Regions from separate parts of the Homo sapiens genome. Here all the other regions are linked to region 2. The links are contacts of gene promoters, found by promoter capture Hi-C in blood cells and fetal thymus (Javierre and others, 2016). All regions are on one chromosome and are shown on one strand. Each heading gives the region's core, a stretch centred on a gene start or on the middle of the fragment in contact. The rest is flanking DNA. Distances are from core to core; before and after follow the strand shown.

Region 1 (2,995 bases), core at 142-2,641, 530 kb before region 2:
ATTCCAAAAATAAAAAAAGTTCATATTTACATTAGGTCTGTTAGGTCCAGGAGGTACTGCATTCATTAAAGTATACATGTTATCACCAGAGTTGGTTGAATCTGAAACAAAATATTACTTAATTAAAATATTTCTTTAGAGTCTATACCCAATTCATCACAAAGTAATGATCAAAGATGGTTTGCATACAGATACCTCTCTCTATATAAGCTGCAACACTTGAAATTGTCATTACTAAAAATAAATACCCACAGTCATTTTCTGACCCCAAAATTGTCATTCTGAGGTCATAAATTAGGTATGAGGAATCACTTCAATAATTCAGGTAAAAGGATTATTAGAAATTTAAAAAATTATAGTAAAGTTTTTCTTTTTAAAAAAGATACTTTTTTACTTCAAGCAATTCTATGTGTGTGTATGTGTGTATATGTAATATATAATATCTCTTAAAATTCAGATTCAGTTGCTTTTCAGTTTTATTTCCTTAAGTTTCCAATATACAAATTTTAAAAATAGTCTTTTTACTTAATAATTAGTGAAAGCTGGTGGACTATCCTGGCTTAATTCCGAAAGAAAAAGATTAGAGTAAGAGTATACAATTAGAATAATGTAATTCTCCTGTTTGAACTAAAAGCCAGCTTCTTCCAGCACAACTTCTGATGAAATGTTTTTACTCACTTTATTTTTGATTTATTATAATAAAAATATCTGTACTGCATATCCATATAAATATATGTAACATTGTGCAGTATTTAAAAAATTTATATTTCATGTCTGTTAGCTAATTCTAATTAAGTCTCTGAGCATACATGTTTTTATAATATAAAACCTAGAGTGAAAGGCTAAATATTTTACATTGAGAAAATATAAATGATAAATTATGGTTTTCTATTTTTCCACATTATACAGTTTTCTTAAATATAATGTAGTAGGCCTCTTTTGTTTTATTTTGTTTTTTTAGACAGAGTCTTGCTCTATCGCCCAGGCTGGAGTGCAGTGGCACAATCTTGGCTCACTGCAACCTCCGCCTCCCGGGTTCAAGCGATTCTCTTGCCTCAGCCTCCCAAGTAGCTGGGACTACAAGTGCATGCCACCACGCCTGGCTAATTTTTTATACTTTTAGTAGAGATGGGGTTTCACTGTGTTAGCCAGGATGGTCTTGATCTCCTGACCCTGTGATCTGCCCACCTTGGCCTCCCAAAGTGCTGGGATTACAGGCGTGAGCCACCGCGCCCCGCCAGTAGGCCCATTTTGAGAAAAAGATGTGTTTAAAATTTTTGTACTGATTTGAGACAGAAGGTAAGTATCATTTACTTTCTCATGGCAGTAACCATAGAGTGGCAATTACTTTTCCTTTTACTGTGTGATTACTCATTAGACATTAATAAGTTTATTATTTTAGTGTGTATTACTTACAGAGTAGATCTCATGTCATTTATTGGTTGGCTGTGAACAATGACCCATAAATCTAAATACTGTATCTTATTTGAATATATCTATTTGAATATATCATAATGTTGAAAAAGTTGGAGTGCCTACCTCAGGTTGACCCTATTTGTTTATTCTAAGGAAGGTCCTAACCTACTTTTGTGACCTTAACTGTTTTTACATCCTTGTGTATGCTATACTCCTGTCAACCCAGGCTACTTGTTTTTTCCTGTGACCAACCTTTCTGCCTCCATGATTTTGTTCTTTCTTCCTCCAAACACCTTCTCAATCTCTATGCACTGAAATTCTACTCACTATCGAAGGGCTATCTCAAATGTTATGTCTTCCATGAGGTTTTTTCCTGGCAGTTCCAAGTGCATGAGTGCTCCCCTCCCACTGAGTTCTGCCTTCCATTATAGGAATACTTTACTGCTTTATTCGTTCCTCCTGCTTCCAACTAGGACATAATAAGCTCATGGAGAGAAGGAAAGGACCGTGTCTTACTCATCTTGTGTACTAAAGACAATAAGTACTGCTAACTTAGATTTAACTGTTGGAATAAACTCAATCACACACAAGATTAACTTTAAAAAATCTTGGATTGCTTTTTAAACATAGGAAATCTTCAAATGGTTTTTCAACTGTATTGGCCTTACTCTTGGTAAAAGGAAGATGGGCTACATATTTTAAATGTGCACAAAGAAAAGAAATTTATCATTTTAAAGACTAATCAAGAATATAATTTCATCTGCTACAGAAAAAATTTGAGAGAGATAAGATTGGTATTTATGGCCAGGCGAGGTGGCTCACACCTGTAATCCCAGCACTTTGGGAGGCCAAGGCAGGTGAATCACTTGAGGTTAGGAGTTCCAGACCAGCCTTGCCAACATGGTGAAACCCCGTCTCTACTAAAAATACAAAAATTAGCCGGGCATGGTGGCACACTCCTGTAATCCCAGCTACTCGGGAGGCTGCAGCAGGAGAATTGCTTGAATCCAGGAGGCTGAGCTTGCAGCGAGCTGAGATTGTGCCACTGCACTCCAGCCTGGGTGACAGAGGCTCTGTCTCAGCAAAGAAAAAAAAAATTTTATATATATATATATATATATATATATATATATATATATGTATGTATTTACTGGAAAATGTCTGACTTCTATGTACAGAAAAACTTTACAATAAAGTGGATCTCCTGGGACCTCCTTTCTTGTGGGTGGGGTGCTGGCTGAGTATTAGAGGAGTGACTGTGACACAGGATGAACACATAAAAGAGTATGCAAAAAGACTAGGAAGATGTACTTGTGGCAATTTCTGGTTTGAAAGGAAGATTACTTATTGCCTGCAATGTTCAGTGTTGCTCCAAAAACTTTTTTTTAGTCTTGCAGTGAAGCATTTATTATTCACATGCTACCTTCATAAATTAAACATTAACTTCACCATATAAGAACATAAATATGGGCAAGATGATCAGTTGATATAATTCTATCTTCGATGAATTGTATCATTTTCAATGAAGATGCCTTCAGGACACAGACCATTAAATATCCAAGGAGTTAGTGAAGCAAAG
Region 2 (3,288 bases), core at 373-2,872:
AATGCTATGATGACAGACCGTAGCCTTAAAGCAGTTTATAGTGTTGTAGGGTAAACACATAAACAGGCCAATATCATTCTTTGCCATGAGGGATATGATGAGAGGAAGTACATGGAGGTTAACTGAGTTATTTCTTTTAGTTTCTTTGTTTTTGGCATGTGAATTATGAAACTTTAAAACACCTCCAGTGCAAAAAAAATTTTTTTTAAATTAACATGGTGGTTGGTGCACTGTGTTTCTAAAATATGGAGTACAATGTAAAGCAATGCATTCTTTTTTTAAAAATTTATTGTTATTTTGAAAAATTTTTGTAGAGATGAGGTCTCACTGCCTTGCCCATAGCTGGTCTTGAACTCCTGGGCTAAAGCGATCCTCCTACCTCGGGCTCCCAAAGTGCTGGGATTACAGGCGTGAGCCACTGCGCCCAGCCGCATTCTTGTTTTCATCTGTGAAATACGTTTTTAAGGTAAATACTTAAAGTTGATGGAGACACCTGGTCTACTTAAGCTCTCATTCAGAACACACTGCCTTGTGCTTTTAAAAAAATTAAATGGATAATCTAAATTGGCAGCTACCAATTAATTTATATCCATAGTTGCTAAAAAATGTTAGTGTAAGTTCATTTTTATTAGTCGCATCATTTTGAGTTTTAAACTATTTCACATGCAGTAAAATTTATACCTCTTATGGGTTTTGTCAAACAGTGGTTTAGTCACCAACACAATCACGGTATAGAAGCTCTCAAGCTCCTTTTCAGTCACCCCCTTCCTCCAGCCCTTTGCCCTGGTCGCCACTGATCAGTATTCTCTCCTTTTAAAAACACTTATTATTTGGAAATAATTATAGACACAGGAAATTGCAAAAATACTACAGCACCTAGAGTCCCGTGTACCTATCACCTAGTTTCCTCCAATGGTGACATCTTACACAACTGTAGTACAAGATCAAAAAACTATGTCATGTAGTTTGAAGGCAGGTTTTCCTTTCACTTCTTCGCCTGCATTTTCTCCTTTCATTTCCAACAAATTTAACTCTGTTGTTAGAAGGAGCAGATGCTAGTTTTCTTTCAGATGTCTGCTATTTCAGTTCGATTACCCCTGTTACTCCTACATTTTTTCTAGTCTTTATCCCCATCGTTTCGCCCCAATTTAATTTTGCTGCTAGTTTTTTTTTTTTCTCCTCTGGGATATGTGCCACAGATGGTACTATTGTCAATATTCGAATTCCTAACTTCTCCCTCCATCCGTAAGTTTTCAAGGGGTAGCCGTGCTTGTGCTTAATTGTGGTGTTTACAGGACTTTTTGTAGCGTAAGCATGCTGGCATGGTTCCCCAACCTCTTAGGGGGATGCTAGTAACCCGCTCCCCCGTCAACGAGCCGCCTTTGTGCTCCGCGGAGGGCACCGCCTGCGTTGGGTTGGAGGTGGGGGTTGGCGGGGGAGAGCTGCCCGCCAGGCGAGGGGCGGGGCCTTGGCGGGGGTGGTCGCGGGCGGCGGGGAGGTCTCGCTTCCCTCCTCTCCACCCGCTCCCAGTCCCGGCCTGGGTCTCAGCCCCGCCCTGCCCAGAGCGCGCGGCCGATCACGTCACCGGCCTGCGCTAGGCGGCCCCCACGGCGCGGGAAGGCGCAGTGCGCACGCTCCGACTCGGCCGTGGCGGACCTGACTGAAGGAGGCCGCGGACCTGACTGAAGGAGGCCACGGCCACTTCTGGTTGGCCTCGGGGCGCGCTGGCTCGGCTCTTCCTCCGCCCTCGAGGCCCCCGCAGTCCCATCATTCAGTTCCGTAGGGTCACCGGCGCGGCAGTGGCCTCGCAGGGCGCTGGGTCCCTCTCCCCAGCTCTCCTCCCCCTGGCCCCGTCGCCCCGCCCTCGCCGGGCTGGGCTGCGGGGTCAGGGGCCGAGCGGAGAGGGGTGAGTATTCCCCACAGCCCTTGCCGGTTGTCTCCTCCCGGCTCTGCTTCCCACACGGTCCTTGCCCCACTCCTAGGACAGGGAGGAAGGGCACGCGCGGGTAGGCGGGAAACAGCCCAGTCCTGAACAAAAGGCCGGGGAAGCGGGTCCCCGCCGGTAACTGCAGGCCTGTGCTGGCCGCCGCGAGCGGGGAAGGGCGAGGACACTCCCTCCTCGGGGACCCGGTCCCCGTCGCGCACACGGTGTCACCAGCACACCTGGCCCAGTACCCAAAGCACCCTCGAAGTGGGTAGTAACTACTTTGTGTTTAAAATCCACATACTGATAGCAAATCTTTGGTTGAAACAGTATTAAATTACTGGGGCTTCCAGTGGCTGAGTCCAACTTAATTTGAAGTTTCAGATTAAGTATCAGGAGGAATAACTTGATATTTAGAGCCAACAGGTCTTTCTTTTTTTTTTAAACCTCCCAAAAAACCTATAAAATCAAGAATTGGCGGGGAGGACCGGAGAATGATAAAGGAATAGTTGACTGATTTATAGAAACTTTTAGTGGCGGTAAAAATTACAAAAGTATTGGAAATAAGGCAAAAGGACAGCATGTTTTTTTCAGAGTCAAAATGGAGCCTAACAGGCCCACCTGAAGATGATTTAGATGTCTAGGGGACTATATTTTGTTTGGCATGATGATATTGATTAGGGCCTAGGCTTTGTAGTTAACATCTTTTTCATTAATGGAGATGCAAATTATTTCTGAGTGGGAGAGAAAAAAATACAGTACTCCTAAAGGTTGTAGTTTTAGTGCCTTGTAGGATATTAGCCATTTTTCTTTTCTTTTTTTTGAGACAGAGTCTTGCTCTGTCGCCCAGGCTGGAGTGCAGTGGCACGATCTCGGCTCACTGCAACCTCTGCCTCTCGGGTTAAAGCAATTCTCCTGCCTCAGCCTCCCGAGTTGCTGGGACTACAGGTGCCCGCCACCACGCTCAGCTAATTTTTGTAAGTTTAGTAGAGACGGGGTTTCACCATATTGGCCAGGCTGGTCCGGAACTCCTGATTTTGTGATCCGCCTGCCTCGGCCTCCCAAAGTACTGGGATCACAGGCGTCAGCCACCGCGCCCGGCCAATATTAACCATTTTTCTGTCTAACCTATCAAACTTACCATCCTTTCTTCAGTGTTTATGCTCAGTTCCTGAAATGCTTTTGAGCACACTAAGCCATTCAGCTTGTTCCATTGTGAGTTTAATAAATCTTTGTCACAGGTTCATTTTGAGTCATATTTATAACTTTTGTTATTGGACAATGGTCTCTATTCTTTAGTGGCAAAAACAAGTTTATGCTTCTCAGGATGGAAGGACATAGGCCCTGTGTGGTACTCAAATACA
Region 3 (3,323 bases), core at 192-2,691, 570 kb before region 2:
AAGATGCAGAAACCTGAAGACTCATCAGTGCGTCCTCAAATCAGGCAGGTTGGTCAGCCACCAACAAGCCTCACCTTTTCAAGTCCTTGCCCACCAATTAAGGGAAAATGTCTATAATGAACCATAGACTAACAAAGATTTTATAAAATGACTTTCAAAGGATTTTTTCCCGAAATGCCCTATGTGATCTGGCAACTGCCTCCTTGTCCTCTTTTTTCTCTACCTCCAAAATAAATCAGGTTCTGTGACGTTTGATGCTAAACCATAATTCGGCTTTGGGCATTTTAATTAAGATATTTTTGTGAAATTCACTTATCTGTGGCATCTTTTTTCTTCTTTTTCTAAATTCATATTCTAAACATTTCAGGAACTAAAACTTCAATACTACATCAACCGTATTATTATGGTAGCTTTCTTCCTTTAAGTGGACATTTAAAGTTCTCTTCAAAGCAATGAAAAAGAATGGCAAATAATCTCCACAAGAATGAGTTATATGAATATGTTTTGAGATTTTGATACCTCTGTTCTTGAAATATCTACTAGCAACTCATTAGGTCAGAGTCTTAGAGCTTAGACATAGTGAAGCTCAGAATGCAATAAAGGGGACAAAAGTCCTGTAGACTAGGCATTAAAAAACCTTTTTAACCTTTAAGACAGAGTCTTGCTCTGTTGCCCAGGCTGGAGTGCAGTGGCATGATCCTGGCTCACTGCAACTTCCACCTCCTGGGTTCAAGCAATTCTCCTGCCTCAGCCTCTCATAAAAAACATTCTTGTTAGCCAGTTATGTGAACGGGATAAATCCACTGGGCATATGATACATTTTTTCACATTACTGCTGTCATCATTCCTTAGTTGCTTTTTTCTTTAGGATCCTGGAGTTGTCTGAAAAGATTGACATTATTCGACTATTTCTCTGGCATTTCAATGAGAATAGACTATTAACAAAGGAAAGTGAACTCAAAAATAGTAAATTAGACCCCTTAACTTGCTCGTATCAGCAGAAAAATAGATTAACAATTTTTTTTCAGATTCTTTCCCTACACTGATAGTTTTCCAGCTACTTATAAGATCTCATCTTGATATCAACAGTGTTAGATATTAACAAAATACAATAGCATTAAGAAGACGTATTTCATCATTCTACTTTATTGAGAACCTAAATAACCAGTTGAGAGTTATGTAGGGAAAGCAAGATTAGAACCCACGTTTTCTGTCTGCTGATACTGTGCTTTGTCATTCTGTGACACTACACTGCTTCTAATAAAAGGCCTTCTATTTCTTAATTTTTAAGAGTAAAAATATATCTTAAGCAAAAACAATATGTTGAAAACAAATCTCTGTGGGTTTTTTTTTCTTTTTCTAGAAGTTACACATATTTCTTAGTAGGAATACATTTCCATCTTTCTGTTTGGAGTGAGTCACATTTTAATGTTTTGTTTCAGAATTTGCATCTGAAGGGTTAATAAAGATACAGTATGGCATAAAGGCTAAACATAGCTCTTAATGCTGCTGGCGATCATCCCCTGGAATATACTAGTGCTGAGATTTATGGAGCCCCTTAGGCTCCCACAGACCCTCAGCTTCAGGGAAAGGAAGGCTCACTCCAGAGAACAATGTGCATATATTCATTCTGCTGCCCTGCGGCACAGCCCAGCCTGCTAACCTGGTCACCTTCTGCCTCACTCTTCAGTCTTAGCTTTTGCGTTGATGTACACGTAAATCACTTGGGACACAGAGTGAAATCACAGTATTTAATCAGCATACTCACTGGTCAATTTTACTTGCCTCCTTGCAAAGAAGCAAGTCTTATTTCAGAGCTCTAAGCTGTTAATTATTGTAAGCAATCCATCAAATACATAGGTTTCTGAAATATGTTGGACTATGATTTAATTATTTTCCTCAATTATTATTTTCTGCTATTTCAATTTTTGAAAGCCATACAATTAATCAGTTATAATTGGGTATGGGCGCCTCTCCACCAATCCATGACCCCCAGCGCCTGCATCAGATGTTGAAATAACACGATAAATGTGTTTGGATGAAAAAATACTGTGGTGACATGTTTGGATGAATCAAGTTCACATAAATGGTACAATAGATGGGATGAGCATGCAAGCTAACATAGCTTTATATTGCTTATGTTTACAGATTTGTGCAAGTCTTAGAAGCCTAGATACACTTACTATGCACCATATTTAAGAATTGTTGATTGAAGAGGTGGACAATAAAACAATCAAGCCATATTTCCTGCATGCAAAGGACCAGTAATTAAGGATGAAGGGGCATGCTCTCTTCCTCCCCTGCTTTCCCCTATTGTTACCAAACATTAAATATTCAAAAGCATTTGACTAAAAATGTCACTACACATTTATAATATTCCATTAAAGCTGATATAAAAAATATTAATAGACATTTGTTATGGTATTATAGCATAAAAAGGCTGTAGCGGCCGGGCGCGGTGGCTCACGCCTGTAATCCCAGCACTTTGGGAGGCCGAGGCGGGTGGATCATGAGGTCAGGAGATCGAGACCATCCTGGCTAACAAGGTGAAACCCTGTCTCTACTAAAAATACAAAAAATTAGCCGGGCGCGGTGGCGGGCGCCTGTAGTCCCAGCTACTCGGGAGGCTGAGGCAGGAGAATGGCGTGAACCCAGGAAGCGGAGCTTGCAGTGAGCCGAGATTGCGCCACTGCAGTCCGCAGTCCGGCCTGGGCGACAGAGCGAGACTCCGTCTCAAAAAAAAAAAAAAAAAAAAAAAAAAAAAAAAAAAAAAAAAAAAAAGGCTGTAGCATAAAAAAGGTGAGCAAACTCAAGATCTACCATGATCAAATGTCTACCTAATATGACATGCCTAACATTTATCAGTAGAAGTCAGTTATCATGTTTAATAAAAATAATCAGCTTGTTTTTGAACTATCATTTTCTATCAGTCATTGAACACTTTCTTGTTTCTTCCTTTAAAAACTGCTAAAACTCAGATAGACAAGTAAAATTATTTATTTATTTATTTATTTATTTATTTATTTATTTATTTATTTTTGAGACGGAGTCTCGCACTGTCGCCGGGGCTGGAGTGCAGTGGCACGATCACGGCTCACTGCAACCTCTGCCTTCCAGGTTCAAGCGATTCTCCTGCCTCAGCCTCCCCAGTAGCTGGGATTACAGGCGCCCACCACCACGCCCAGCTAATTTTTTGTATTTTTAGTAGAGACGGGGTTTCACTATGTTGGCCAGGCTGGTCTCGAACGCCTGACCTCGTGACCCACCCACCTCGGCCCCCCAAAGTGCTGGGATTACAAGCGTGAGCCACCGCGCCTGGCTGA

What was found. The method cuts DNA at HindIII sites, captures the fragments that hold promoters and counts their contacts. A CHiCAGO score of 5 or more calls a contact.
Region 1: a contact is called between a fragment that was not itself captured here and the fragment with the promoter of ATG10 in region 2, in 2 of 17 cell types (total CD4 T cells and non-activated CD4 T cells). The highest score is 5.8, in total CD4 T cells.
Region 3: a fragment that was not itself captured here is called in contact with the fragment with the promoter of ATG10 in region 2 in 1 of 17 cell types (non-activated CD4 T cells); the score reaches 5.0 in non-activated CD4 T cells.

The regions. Positions count from the first base shown.
Region 1 is chr5:81,442,623-81,445,617 of GRCh38, forward strand. It overlaps SSBP2 (single stranded DNA binding protein 2), which reads right to left. Exons shown (of 17, transcript NM_001256732.3): 13 at 31-101. Among named protein-coding and RNA genes, the nearest start is that of ACOT12, 50 kb to the left of the region's middle. The HindIII fragment of the contact is 3,403 bases long and covers 1-2,995 here.
Region 2 is chr5:81,970,401-81,973,688 of GRCh38, forward strand. It overlaps ATG10 (autophagy related 10), which reads left to right and starts at 1,623. Exons shown (of 8, transcript NM_031482.5): 1 at 1,623-1,906. RefSeq lists enhancers at 1,156-1,713, 1,714-2,269 and silencers at 1,284-1,613, 1,784-2,023. The HindIII fragment of the contact is 10,147 bases long and covers 1-3,288 here.
Region 3 is chr5:81,403,696-81,407,018 of GRCh38, forward strand. No RefSeq gene overlaps it. Among named protein-coding and RNA genes, the nearest start is that of ACOT12, 11 kb to the left of the region's middle. The HindIII fragment of the contact is 5,410 bases long and covers 1-3,323 here.